Linked DNA regions of Homo sapiens: region 1 is linked to region 2. The links are contacts of gene promoters, found by promoter capture Hi-C in human tissues and cell types (Jung and others, 2019). All regions are on one chromosome and are shown on one strand. Each heading gives the region's core, a stretch centred on a gene start or on the middle of the fragment in contact. The rest is flanking DNA. Distances are from core to core; before and after follow the strand shown. Region 1 has its middle 58 kb from the start of USP44. Region 2 holds the start of HAL (histidine ammonia-lyase).

Region 1 (6,933 bases), core at 283-2,782, 380 kb after region 2:
CCAACATGGTAAAACCCTGTCTCTACTAAAAATACAAAAATTAGCCGAGTGTGGTGGTGGGCGCCTGTAATCCCAGCTACTCGGGAGGCTGAGGCAGGAGAATCACTTGAACCCGGGAGGCGGAGGTTGTGGTGAGCCAAGATTGAGCCATTACACTCCAGCCTGGGCAACAAGAGCGAAACTCCGTCTCAAAAAAGAAAAAGAAAAAAAAAAGTTTCCAAAGGATTTTTACCACCAGGAAGACTATCCTAGGTAACAACAGATAACTTTCTCAGTGGGCTTGTCCTTTATCGCTTTTAAAGAAAACTCCCAATCCCAGCACTTTGGGAGGCTGAGGCGGGCGGATCACCTGAGGTCAGGAGTTCAAGACCAGCCTGACCAACATGGAGAAACCCCACCTCTACTCAAAATACAAAATTAGCTGGGTGTGGTGGTGCATGCCTGTAATCCCAGCTACTCGGGAGGCTGAGGCAGGAGAATCACTTGAACCCAGGAGGCTGAGGTTGCGGTGAGCCAAGATCACACCGTTGCACTCCAGCCTGGGCAACAAGAGCAAAACTCCATCTCAAAAAAAAGAAAGATAAATAAATGAATTAATTAATTAATTAAACTCCCCTTTTTCCGACAGTATAGCACAATAGCTTTTAGAGCTTCTGGCTAGGCTCAATGCAGAACAGCTTTTAATTATTTCTTGTCCACTACCTATGGATTACTCTCAAGATACTACCACTTCTAAAATAAGAATTGTTAGTAATTAATTATATTCACACAGCTGCATTTATGGACCTGTGTGTGTACTGTAAATGACTGAGGAATATAGCCATGCAATCTGTTCCCAAGGTCATGGCTTAATGACTAACACACCTGAGAATGCTTTATCAAATGTTTGCATAAGCCATTGTGTTTGGCATATCAGGAGGAGGTTTTCACTAGGCCAGCTGATTAGCATTCATTAAAATGAGAAAAGTATCTACTCTGCTTCTCAGACCTACTCTAACCAGCCTCAATTCTCGTCATTTACTTAATTGCTTCTTTCCTGATTTGCTATTAATTCCCAATCTATCTCTCATCACCCTACCACTTTTCTAAGGTCTTTGTCCCTACTTCCACCCTCCAGACACCTGCCCGAATGGCAGGAGTGATAACATCAAGCCTACAGCAGTAGGTGGATTGCTATGATGAGAACAACAGGGCATTCATTTAAGAGGGACTCCAAGCCATTTTGTTCCACAAATACATTTGCAATATTCACAAAATCAGCTTGGTGCAGTGGCTCACACCTGTAATCCCAGCACTTTAGGAGGCTGAGGCAGGTGTATCACTTGAGGTCAGGAGTTCGACACCAGCCTGACCAACATGGTGAAACCCCGTCTCTACTAAAAACACAAAATTAGCTGGGCATGCTGGTGCATGCCTGTAATCCCAGCTACTCGGAGGCTGAGGCAGGAGAATCGCTTGAACCTGGGAGGCAGAGGTTGCAGTGAACCATTGCACTCCAGCCTGGCCAACAAGAGTGAAACTCTGTCTCAAAAAAACAAAAAAAATTCACAAAATCACATACACACAACCACTGATAAAGCTTCATTTATTGGACAAGTCAAAACTATCTTTCACATTTTTTAAAAAGGAAGACTATTTTGTCAGGAGAATTATCTGTCATGTAGAAGCTGAAAGAAATTTTAGACTTGAAAATAACAATTTTGGGGGCCAGGCATGGTGGTTCATGCCTATAATCCCAGCACTTTGGGAGGCCAAGATGGGCAGATCACTTGAGCTCAGGAGTTGGAGACCAGCCTGACCAATATAGTGAAACCCCGTCTCTACATAAAATGCAAAAATTAGCTGGGGCATGGTGGCACATGCCTGCAGTCCCAGCTACTTGAGGGACTGAAGCGAGAGAATCCCTTGAGCCCAGGAGGCAGAGGTTGCAGTGAGCGAAGATAGCACCTGGGCAAAATCCCATCTCAAAAAAGAAAAAAAAAAAAAAGGAAAGAAGAAAGAAGAAGAAGAAAATAACAATTTTTAAATTATTTCACCAGTTAAAATTGAAGTAACTCTGGTCGCCGTAATCTTAGATTTAGGGGTTTATCCTAAGGAAATAATCAACATGCATTCAAAGATTTATGTTCAATGGTGTTCTGCTGAATGTTACTATAAAAAGAAAAAGTTGAACCCAATCTGAATGTCCAACAATAGAAATTTTGTTTAATAAATTGTGGTATGTTCATTTGATTAAGCTTCAAAATCATGTAAGCAAATAATATTTAAAGAAATAATAAAATGTATAAAATATCAACATATGGTGGGAGGAAGAGCAGATAGTAAAACGTGAGTTTATGCTGATTTTGATGTCAAAATGTTCTAATTATCAGAAGTAATTATCTGATGCAATTTCAGGGTTTTTTTTTTTCCAAATTTTCTATAATAAGCATTATTTTATTTAAATACATATGCACACATATATTTTTATTTTAAAAGAAAAGGGTGAAAAAAACGGTAGGTATAGTTGTTGAAACACTAAAAAATAATTTCATCATGAAAGTATACTTTGGTTCCTAAATCAATTTAATTTGAAATCAGTGTAAATGTAAGTTTCCACATTTTTAAATTTTGACTACTCAGTGCATACAAATTATTATTCAGAGCACTAACTTAGCTATCACAAAATGTTTAAGCCATGTTATTTGCATAAACACATGGATAATATTCTTCTGTTGTTTTTATCCCATCTGCTTTTTTTTTTTTTTTTTTGAGACAGAGTCTCGCTCTGTTGCCCAGTCATGAGTGCAGTGGCGCGATCTCGGCTCACTGCAAGCTCCGCCTCCCGGGTTCACGCCATTCTCCTGCCTCAGCCTCCCAAGTAGCTGGGACTACAGGCGCCTGACACCACGCCCGGCTAATTTTTTTTGTATTTTTAGTAGAGACGGGGTTTCACCGTGTTAGCCAGGATGGTCTCAATTTCCTGACCTCGTGATCCGCCCGCCTCGGCCTCCCAAAGTGCTGGGATTACAGGCGTGAGCCACTGCGCCCGGCCTATCCCATCTGTTTTTCTTATTGCTTTAGAAACATGAGAATAATAAAAAGAAAGACACTATGACATTCAGTACTAAATAAATGATAATATGCATGCTAAGCAGCCTACTCATAATAATAATGTTTCTTTTGTAGAAAAAGATACATTTTGAGTCAATTACTCATAACTAGTAAATGACCTGATTGCTGCTAAGTACTGATACGACTCATATTTTCCAAGATCCTATATTATCTGTGTTTATACTAAATGATGTCACCTTATATATTCTTTTTTTTGAGACAAAGTTTCACTCTTGTTGCCCAAACTGGAGTGCAGTAGTGCGATCTTTGCTCACTGCAACCTCTGCCTCCCTCCTGTCTCAGCCTACCAAGTAGCTGGAATTACAGGCATGTGCCACCATATCCGGCTAATTTTGTTTTTGTTTTTGTTTTGTTTTTTGTAGAAATGGGGTTTCACCATGTTGGTCAGGCTGTTCTCAAACTGCTGACCTCAAGTGATCGGCCCACCTCAGCCTCCCAAAGTGCTGGGATTACAGGTGTGAGCCACTGTGCCCAGCCTTATATAATTCTTTAGGCTATAAATTACTAACTCTAAAAATTATCAAAAGGAGAGTTAGAGCTTTTTATACATAACTCCTCAAGATTCTTAGTCTTTTAGACACAGCAAAAGAGGAATAAAAATTTTCAAACAAATAGTTGAAAGTGTTCACTGTGGGAATCCTTTTTTGGTTTGTCCGTTTGAGACAGTCTTGCTCCATTGCCCAGGCTGGAGTGCAGCGGCAAAATCTTGGCTCACTGCAACCTCCACCTCCCAGGTTCAAGCCATCCTCCTGCCTCAGCCTCCTGAGTAGCTGGGATTACAGACGCCTGCCACCAAGCCTGGCTATTTTGGATTTTTAGTAGAGACGGGAGTTTCACCATGTTGGCCAGGCTGGTCTTGAACTCCTGATCTCAAGCAATCCACCCTCCTCAGCCTCCAGAAGAGCTGGGATTACAGGCGTGAGCCACTATGCCCAGCCAACTGTGAGAATTCTTAATAGCCCATCTCTTCATGGGAGTTTTGCCTTTAAAAACACAGATAAATCACAGAAAAAAGCACCATTCATCTAATTATTCCAAAGAGGATGGGTCAGAGGAAGGAAAGGGAAAGCTTTTACGCAGCAGCTTGGCTTTGAGCCTTCATGTGTTTTTCGTCTGAAAAGGATCCCACTGTTTTTGGGACATAACAACATGACTAGTTTGAACACACCCAGGAAACAGTATTCCTCTGACAAGGTATTTAAAAGATTAGTGCCAGATATTGAAAGGTAGGTGTGAGTGTGAAGGCTGAGCTCAGTTGGTTTAATCGTGGGTCTTTAAATTGAGCCATCAGATAATAATATTTTTCTCCAGTCATCTAAGCAACATAAGACAAAAAGGGCAGGGAAGCTTAAAAGAGCTACTCAGAAGAACAAAATTAGAGCTGTGAGTCAACTATTTGCACATTGCAAATGTACTTCACCCACATTAACACAACATTACGCCTGGCGGTAAAGCCTGCCAACCTTGAGGCTGTGAGCCTGTTATAAGTAGTGGTTAAAGGAGCCGGCCAGATGCGGTGGCTCACGTTTGTAATCCCAGCACTTTGAGAGGCCGAGGTGGGTGGATCACGAGGTCAGGAGTTCGAGGCCAGCCTGACCAACACGGTAGAACCCCATCTCTACTAAAAATATAAAAATTAGCTGGGCATGGTGGCACGCACCTGTAATCCCAGCTACTCAGGAAGTTGAGGCAGGAGAATCACTTGAATCCAGGAAGCAGAGGTTGTAGTAGTGAGCCGAGATCGCGCCATTGCGCTCCAGCCTGGGCGACAGAGTAAAGACTCCAACTCAAAAAAAAAAAAAAAAAAAAAAAAAAAAGGCCAAAGAAGTTGACAATGTGCTTTAAAATGTCCCAAAATGCACTGTTCTTCCAAGCGAAGAGGGAGCACCTGACTTTTGGATTACCTGTCTCATAAACCTACTGTATAAACTCCTAACTTGGAATCTCTTAGTATATCAATGCTATTGTAACTGGAAAGGGTTTCCCAGATAAAAAGCAAACATGGTTCAAGGTTGAGACCTTATTAGCATTTCCAAAGAGCTGTGAAAAGCCTCTAAACTCTCTCCCCTGCCAAGTAAATTTTGTTTTGCTGAGCTTTGGCACAGTTCCTCTGTTGTCATGGGGGGGGGGGCATTATTGTCACAGCTGTCTCGGGGGTGCTGCCTTGAATACATTTCGAAAATAACACACGAATAAGGAACATGACATTGGCTATATCAAAAGAGTTTTATAAGACAATCACACCTGCTACTGCAAAACTCCAAACTGGCAGTATAAACATCACTTTGCACTTATTTAAAATTATGGGACCAAAAGATGACATTAGGTAAATGAATAAATAATTAGGTAAATAAATGTTCTTAGAGACAAGAACTTAAAGAATAAGTTAGAGAACTTAGAGGTAAGAATTTAGAGAATAACTACTTATTAGGTAAATAAATAAACACAGATGCCTTTGCTAAAACGACTAAGGAAAGCAGAGAAGATACTTGGAAGATATATTTTTAATGTGAACAATTAATGTAAACTTTCTCAAAAACAACTGTAATCCATTCTTTCCAACTGCTTCATTCAGTAAATTTCTTCTTCAAAATGACCAATTATTTTGTTTTGATTATCTTGCTCTGTAGAAAATAGTGGACTGTCATCAATATGAAAAGAATTTCACTATTCTTCTTAATTTTATGTTGATGATAAATTTAAAAGGTGGTTAGGGAAGTTGACAATAGCACATGCAATGCCTTGAATGATGGGCAAAGTGTGAATACGTTATGCAATATATGGAAATTTTCTTTACAAGTATACTGCCTTTAGGATATTTATGTTTAACCAGAATTGCAGGTTGGAACCTGCAACTAACTTGCATTTAGTGAAATTCAAGTTATTTATTATATCCTTACTAGTGAAAAACTGGCTCTGAGGTCATTTAACATCTCCTAAATGTCAAGAGGTCATTCAACTTCTTTACAATGACTTCAGGTTAACAACAAAAGCAAAGAAACGTTATCTTTGGTTGCTGCTTCCAACTGGCATCTTCAGAATCAAGGGATATAGTGCCACATCAGTACCATGTCAGACTTGCTACAGGATTTTGAAAAGATGAGTTTCCCAATCATCACTCTTTTTTCTAGAACTAGATTAGTGACTAAAATAAAGTAATAACACTCCCAGGGAACTGTGATCATCCATATTTAGATACTTCTCACCAGAAGATACAGTTGCATTACGATATTGGTTTGAACACCTTAACAGAATCCAAAATAACAGTGACTTACATAAGAGTTAAAAACTTATTTCTCAGGCTGGGCACAGTGGCTCATGCCTGTAATCCCAGCACTTGAGGAGGCTGAGAAAGGAAGACTGCTTGAGCCCAGGAGTTCAAGACCAGCCTGGGCAACATGGTGATACACTGTCTCTACAAAAAATTTTTAAAATAAAAAATCAGCCAGGCATGGTGGCATATGCCTGTAGTCCCACCTACTTGGGAAGCTGAGGTGGGAGGATCACCTGAGCCAAGGGAGGTTGAGGCTACGGTGGGCTATGATCCTGCCACTGCACTCCAGCCTGGACAACAGTGTGAGATCCTGTCAAAAACAAAAAACAAAACAAACAAAAAAAAACAAAAACAAAACGCCTTATTTTTCCTTCACATAGACATCTGAGTTAGTAGGTGATCTGGAATGTAGGGCAGTTCTCTTTCCAGGGCATCCAGAGAACCAGAGTTCATGAATGTTATTGTTCCACCAGAGCAGAGATACAGAGATAAACAAACTATAGTTAGCAGGCACCGGTTTTGGCAAATAAAATTTTACTGGAATA
Region 2 (7,734 bases), core at 3,848-6,347:
CACTCTAGCCCTTCCCTGTAACTTGCTGCAAAATGTCTGATCTGCCAGTATAAAGGCCAGTCTCTGGTACAGAAGGAGGTCTCTGGGACCCTGTGGCAGGACCATACCCATCTGATTGGCTGGGACTGGTGCCTTATTTGGGTGATGCTGGCTGTCACCCCTGCTGACATCCTTTAATTTAATCTTGGGTATTGACTTGTGTTCTTATTCTCTTTCTCCTTCCTTTTTCCTTTCCTCTGAACCCCTTCCCTCCTTTCTTTCTTCTCTCCCTCCCTTTCTCCTCCTCTGTCTCCTTCTCGCCTTTCTTTCTTTTCAATTTTTTCTTTTTTGGCAGGGATCTTGCTGCCTTTGACAAATCCCATGATCAAGCTGTCCGAACCTACCAAGAGCACAAAGCAAGCATGCATCCCGTGACTGCAATGCTGGTGGGGAAAGACTTAAAAGTGGATTAAAGACCTGCGTATTGATGATTTTAGAGATTTCTCTTTTTTAAATGGAATTCGTAAAGAAATATAAAACTTCAGCTCACAATTAAAACTGTCTTTTTAGTTTTGGCTTTTTATTGTTTTGTTGGTGATTTTACTGAAATAAAGTTGAGCTACTTCTTCTTATAGTGGCATATTCTTTGTAAATTTTAACAAGGTTTAATCTTTTGATTTACAAATTAAAAAATTTTGAATTAGCTTTATATTAATTTTCTCTCAGTATGATCACAAAATATGTCAAGGTAGTATTTTACCTGATATATGATTTAAATTCATTAATTTGAATCTGCTGCAGATTCAAAAATTCAACATGGTTAGGATTTTGCTTTGCTTTTTAAATAACCTTAAACATAAGTCCGGGCGCAGTGGTTCATGCCTGTAATCCCAGCACTTTGGGAGGCCAAGGCGGGTGAATCACCTGAGGTCAGGAGTTTGAGACCAGCCTGGCCAACATGGTGAAACCCCGTCTCTACTAAAAATACAAAAATTAGCTGGGCGTGGAGGCACGACTGTAATTCCAGCTACTCAGGAGGCTGAGGGAGGATAAGCACTTTAATCTGGGAGGCAGGGGTTGTAGTGAGCCGAGATGGCGCCATTGCACTCCAGCCTGGGCAATGGAGACTCTGCCTCGAAAAATAAAAAATTAAAAAAAAACCTTAAACATGAATGCTTAGTTGTATTTGCACACCACCTACCTGGTGGACAGCAGATGAACTCCTTACCAGAATGTGTCAACCCTAGCAGGAGCTCTCAACTCCCTCCTCCTGGACCCCTCCGGCTCATCCAGTGGGCTTGTCCTGGTCTCCTGTCCATCAGGGGTCAGATGGCCACCCCAAGCACCAGTCTTTCCCATCCCTCTCACAGTCTGTTCAAAGACAACAAAATAACTTGAACCAAATAAAAGACAAACATAACAAAGCACCCCTGCCAATGCAACGTAGTGCCCCAGGGCATCTCAGCACACATAGCTGTACTAGGTAGAATTATTAGTGTATTAGCTCTATTAGTTAGAATTAATTAGAACCATAGCTGTGTTAGAATTCTTTGATTGCAAGTAACAGCAATCCAAGTGACCAGAAGTCAAAAAGGGAAAAGGAAGATTATTTTAAGGATGCTAGGTATGGGGAGATTATCAGAACCTGGGACGGACAGAAGGGGTCTGATGCCCAGGACTGCAGCACCGTCAGTGCTCCTGTCCCTCACCTCTGCCTCTCTAGTCCACGTTGTACAGGCCGGCCACTCTCCAGCTTTACTGTTACAAATAGCTCTGACCACATGGGGAGGCTATCACAATTCCAAATTCCCAGAGGTGAGACTCTAACCCAGGTTGGGTCCACCTCTGGTCAAATAAATTGTGTAAGAGGAATGGTGTCTTAGAGTATAATTGTTGGCATGGGGTGGGGGTGGGGAGCGGTGTCCTGACCAAATAACCCCTCAAAGTGCTAATGCAGTGACTAAAGTTACAATAGGAGTGAACACCCAAGGTGGGACAGGTATGGAAGAGACATATTCCTGCCTATTCCCGGAATCCTGACTTTTCCCTGGCTCTCACTCTCCCTAGCAGTTTTTGTTTTGTTTTGTTTTGAGACAGGGTCTCACTCTGTCGCCCAGGCTGGAGTGCAGTGGCATGACCATAGCTCACTGCAGCATCAGCCTCTGGGTTCAAGCCATCCTCCCACCTCAGCCTCTGGAGTAGCTGAGACTACAGGCATGCACCACCATGTCTGGCTAATTTTTGTTTTGTAGAGAAAGAGTTTGGCCATGTTGCCCAGGCTGGTCTCGAACTCCTGGGCTCAAGCAATCCACCCGCCTCGTTCTGTCCTCTTGGTCACTTATCTATGCTGCAGTGTGATTCTTTCTCCAGGCTCTGCTCTCCCTTGCCTTCCTTGCCAAGAATACAGAGAAGGGAGTTCAGCTCAAATCACTGGCATAAGATCATGTTCTAAGATTAGACTTTAGCAAATCCATTTACCCAAATACTGCTCTTTAAGGCTTCTGCCCTATGAGCTTACAAGACAAGCTGTAAGTTAATGTCGTTTTTAGTTATCACTTAGTGATACTGAAAGTGAATTGTGACAAGGGATGCTTGAAGGGTGGCATGGAAGGGTGCTGTGAAGAAGGTAGAGGGCGCTAAAGACAAACTTAATCCTGCTTGCTGGTTTACCTAGGGGCCAGCTCGGTGCAGTTCACATTTCTTCAGTTCAGCTAGTAAGCATATGCTAAATGTCTTTGTGCCAGATCGGATATATACATAATTATGGATGAACACAGACAAGTAATTTCCTAGATAATACTAAAGAAGAGCTATGCTAAGGCATCCCAGAGAAGGGCCACTTAACCCAACTGAAGAATTTAGGGAATGCTTCCTGGAGAAGAAAAGGCCTAAACAGGCTTAAGGAGTAAGAAAGATCTAGACAGGCAAAGGAAGTTGGAAAGTGCGTTTCTGGAGAAAGAATAACAAGGAAGACTCTGCTCCACAATGCGTAGGGCCTGAGTTTAGAATCCTCAAACTGCTGGGGGTGACTTACATGGCTGGGAGGTGGTATCACCTGGAAGCTCCTTCCCTCACTAGTCTGATGCCTGGGCTGAAATTACTCAGAAGCTGGTCTCGGCAGTGACAGTCAACTGGAGCATGCAGTAGTTTGGGTTGTTTTGCAGCATGAAGATAGTTAGACCTCTTATTAGTCATCTTTATACAGCTTTATCCATCACCAGACAGTAAGCCTCATGAATGTAGAGCGTGTTTGTTATTTATTTCATCCCCAGCACCTCGCATAGAGCTTGTTACATAACAGGTGTTGAAAAAATATTTGTTAAATGAGTCAAGGAATGAATGGGGGGGGGTGGGGCAGAAGGTTAAGGTGGTTCACATGTGCAGTCCTCAGTTTTCTCACAGATGTAGGAAGTAAGGTCTCCTTCTGAGAATTAGAGGTGGATGTCGAGAAGGTCCTGGCAGAGGGGTCAAAGTTTTGGAAAGTCACTGTGGGCTGGATGGAATAAAAGGGCAATACCATCAAACTATGTGATCACAGGACTTTCTCTATCAGTGTCTTCTGCCTGGGTGAACAGATATGACAGTTTCTTTTAATTTTAAACAGGGTCTTGCTCTCACCCAGGCTGGAGTACAGTGGTATAATCATAACTCATTGCAGCATTGACTGCCTAGGCTTAAGCAATCCTTCCAAGAGATGGCTGTTTTTTGTGATGACTAAGGGGATGGGTGTTATTCCAAGTGTAGACATAAGTTTAGGGATGCAAAGGAATCTCAGAGTGCTTAAGAAAGAGTGGTCCAGTGAGCGACTAGGGACCAGCTTCCTAGGATAGTAAGTGAGGATGCTGGTGGGAAGTGGAGGGATGAAGAGACTGACTGGAGGTCAGGTCCAAGGCTGGCAGTGACTAGAGTAAAAGGGCAGCTGGAAGGTTGTGGTCAGAAGGTGGAATATTGGAATTTCAGATTTCTTAAGTGTGTCAAATTCAGGTCGTGACAGATTCCAGGGTGATTTCTTAAGTGTGTCAAATTCAGGTCATGACAAATTCCAGGGTGCAGTCATGGTGTGGGTATCTGAAGAGCAAGTTTCAATAAGGCTCAAGGAAGGGTAGCTATTTGTACGCTTCCTGGGAAGCTGTCAGCAGATGAGAGGGACTCTGGGTATGAGTATAGGTGTTTTTCTTGAGCAACCATGTCTCTCTTCCCAACAGAAGTCTGATTTAGTGGAAACAGACTTTTCAGGATTTTTCTAGTGCAATAATCAAATCTCTAAAAATTGGCTTACGATGAAAGTGCTGCTTAGTCAAAATAGCATCTGCATATCTTTGATGCCGTAATCATGCTATCCAGAGTTCCTTAATACCAATGGTAATAAGGCGGGTGCAGGGAGCAGTTATCTGTGGTGAAGAAGCTTAATTGGGTGAGGGATATCCATGTGCCAAGATGAAAGAGCATTTATGGAACTTTATAGCTTTATGATTCATACAGAACATTTATAAAGCATTATAGTTACATGGAGTATTGGTGTCCAGATACTAGTAATCACAGACACTTCTATAATATTTCCACTATGCCAGGTGTTGTGTTGAGGGCTTTACATATATGAACTGACTTCATCCTCCCAATAGCCCTTTGACATATATACTATCATCATTACCATTATCTTCATTTTACAGATGAGGCAACTGAGGCCCAGAGAAGTCAAATCACTTGCCCACAAGTCATACACTTAGCAAATGGCAGAGCCAGGATTTGATCACAGGTAAATCCTGCACATACTGGAAGGAGGCAGTTAGCCCCTAGGCCTTCTGATAAGGAAATACAGGGTAATACTCACCTAATCAAGGCTAATAAGTAGTAGAGCTGGACTCTCATCCACGGCTGTCTGAGCCCCTAATCTCCAAGTCAGAGTGGTTCATTTGCCCAGATGACGACCTTTAGTTGTGAAAATGATCTCTGGCCTTTGCAGTCTTCCCTGGTGGAAAGAAAGCTTCAGAAAACCTTACTGGTGACAGGAAGTAGTTGCTCAATACATGTTTGTGGAATAAACAAATGAGTGACGATTGCCACACTCCCAGTGTCACAGTTGGCCCACAGAACACGTTTTACAGTTGAGTAATCTCAGATAAAGACAGGAACATGGTGTTTATAAGCTGCCCTTAATGGCAGAGAACACAGACAGAAACGAGGGAAGAGAGAGAAATTGGGGACCCTGAAGAAAGGGGGCCAGCAGCAGGTAGGTGCCATCAGGGACAAGAACAGCACCTCCCAGGGTGGGAGACCCCAGGCCTTTCTGGCAGCAGGTCTGGATGGAAAGTGGACAGGAGGCTCACCCGTCTGCATCCCCTGCTCCTGCCCCTGCTCGGCTACAAAAACCAAAGGGACAGCAGGTACCTCAATAAATATTTGTCCAATGCATGAATGAGTAAAGGTGAAGGAGGGGGAGTGGTTTGAAAGTCTATTCTCATCCTTCCAGCTGACCACACCCCGGTAGCCACTCCTGCATAAAGCTCTCCCCTCCTGTGACCAGCTGAGGACCTCAGGCTGCAGCGGAGCCATGCCCAGATACACGGTGCACGTACGTGGGGAATGGCTGGCAGTGCCCTGCCAGGACGCGCAGCTCACTGTGGGCTGGCTGGGCCGGGAGGCCGTGAGGCGCTATATCAAGAATAAGCCCGACAATGGTGGCTTCACCTCCGTGGATGACGCGCACTTCCTTGTGCGCCGGTGCAAGGGCCTGGGCCTGCTGGACAACGAGGACCGGCTCGAGGTGGCCCTAGAGAACAACGAGTTCGTGGAAGTGGGTGAGTGGCTGCAGGAGAGGGCCGCGAACGGGTGCGGTTTGGCCTGGCTTAGTCTTTGCAGCATTGAACCCCCACCTCAGGGAAAATGATGAGCAGAGGTCAGGCTTGCCGAGGCTGGCCCTGTGCAGGCACATGCCACGCCTCTGGGGATCTTAAGTCCTCACACAACCCTGTGAGATGGGTAGGATTCTCCTCCACCTCTGATGGAGGAGAAATCAGAGAGGAGGTAACTTACCCAGACTCCAGCAGCTAGTAAGTAACAAAGACTAGACTGGTACTCAAGGCTGCAGGTCTGAATCCCTTTGCAGTGACTGAATCATTTTGAGGTTATTTTGCCTTTCGAAAGAATCCACCCCCACCCCCAGACTGGAGGCCGGCAGCATAGCATCAGTTCAGATTTTGAAGAAAATAAAGCTGGGAATGGGGATGGAAGTGGAATTCTGTCTTGAACTTTCATCTAAACCCCTGGTCTCTGCCCTGACACCTACCTTTCTGCTTTTTGCTCTCCTCCTACATAAAGATGCTAAGACCACATGAAACCATCTGAAGCAGTTTTAAAGCAGCCATTTCTATAGAATTCATGGGCCAATGATGGGCCGTTCCTTGGTTTAACAGGGGGAACATGGCTGTACAATGTGATCTGTAACGAGTCTCCCGTGCATTGTTTTAGTTATAGAGGGTGATGCCATGTCTCCTGACTTCATTCCATCTCAACCAGAAGGAGTTTATCTGTATCCTTTCCCACAGGCTCTTTGGTCTGCTCTGGGGGTGGCTCCTGCAGATGGTGGGGCTGGGGGTTTTTCCACACCACCCTATATGTTCCTTTACCTGGATACAGATACAGCAAGTACCGGGAGCCTGAAAAGGTAAGCTTCAAACCACTTTCTTTTTCTTCAGAAAATTAAGGCCCCTTATTTAAGAGGGAGGAAAGCCAGGAAAACTTCTGAGAAAACACTGTCAATTAGAACAGGGCTGGCCGGGAGCAGTGACTCATGTCTGTAGTCCCAGCACTTTGGGTGGCCGAGGTGGGCAGTTCACTTGAGGTCATCAGTTTGAAACCAGCCTGGCCAACATGGTGAAACCCCATCTCTACTAAAAGTACAAAAATTAGCCAGGTATGGTGGCGTGCACCTGTAATACCAGCTACTCAGGAGCCTGAGGCACGAGAATTGCTTGAACCCAGGAGGCAGAGGTTGCAGTGAGCCATGTTTGTACCACTGCACTCCAGCCTGGGCTGGAGACTCTGCCTCAAAACAAACAAACCAACCAACCACAGGGCTTTATCCAGCTCTGTAGTGGGGAAAGGGGGCTTGGAAAGGCATTATGCTTTTGCACCAATAAGCCTCCTCTTATGCAAGATGCATTTTTATTTAGCATATTCATGTTTCACGCAATGATCAGATCTCTGAAATGTCAGTTTGGTTCTGTTGGAGGTGTCCCTACTCTGGTTAGAATAATCAAGCTGTTCAGACTCACTGAGATCCCCTTCTTTTGTGTAGTACATCGAGTTAGATGGAGACCGTCTGACCACGGAGGATCTGGTCAACTTGGGAAAGGGACGCTACAAAATAAAGGTATGGGGAGGGAGGGGAAAGATGTCCTCTGGCCATTTTTGTTGCCCGTGGAAGTCTTTAACGTGCTCAGTTCTGATCAACATTTTCCTAGCTCACCCCAACAGCTGAGAAGAGGGTGCAGAAATCCAGGGAGGTCATAGATAGCATCATAAAAGAGAAAACAGGTATCTTTTTATCTTTATGTTATAAATATTTTTATAAACAAACAAAAATCCCTGCATTTAATTGCATAATGTCTCTTTTTATTCTAGTTGTTTACGGTATTACTACAGGTTTTGGGAAATTTGCCAGAACTGTAATTCCTATCAATAAGCTACAGTAAGTTTAAAACACACATATGTTCACGTTCCACCTACCCTCATCTTTTAAATATTTTTCAACAA

What was found. Contacts are between HindIII fragments. The study calls those that stand out against the background at their distance.
Region 1: a fragment that was not itself captured here is called in contact with the fragment with the promoter of HAL in region 2 in 2 of the 25 tissues and cell types used here (aorta and hippocampus).

Annotation. Positions count from the first base shown.
Region 1 is chr12:95,606,080-95,613,012 of GRCh38, reverse strand. No RefSeq gene overlaps it. Among named protein-coding and RNA genes, the nearest start is that of USP44, 58 kb to the right of the region's middle. RefSeq lists enhancers at 712-1,280, 1,281-1,849. The HindIII fragment of the contact is 5,580 bases long and covers 1-4,322 here.
Region 2 is chr12:95,993,707-96,001,440 of GRCh38, reverse strand. It overlaps HAL (histidine ammonia-lyase), which reads left to right and starts at 5,097. Exons shown (of 21, transcript NM_002108.4): 1 at 5,097-5,363; 2 at 5,450-5,777; 3 at 6,448-6,508; 4 at 6,616-6,643; 5 at 7,277-7,351; 6 at 7,443-7,515; 7 at 7,603-7,669. The coding sequence starts at 5,531. It overlaps LOC102723340 (a long non-coding RNA gene), which reads right to left and starts at 4,959. Exons shown (of 4, transcript XR_945237.4): 1 at 4,811-4,959; 2 at 3,014-3,110; 3 at 1,181-1,350. LTA4H (leukotriene A4 hydrolase) reads left to right here. Exons shown (of 19, transcript NM_000895.3): 19 at 335-688. The coding sequence ends at 452. RefSeq lists enhancers at 2,690-2,749, 3,196-3,490, 4,715-4,884. The HindIII fragment of the contact is 2,850 bases long and covers 4,675-7,524 here.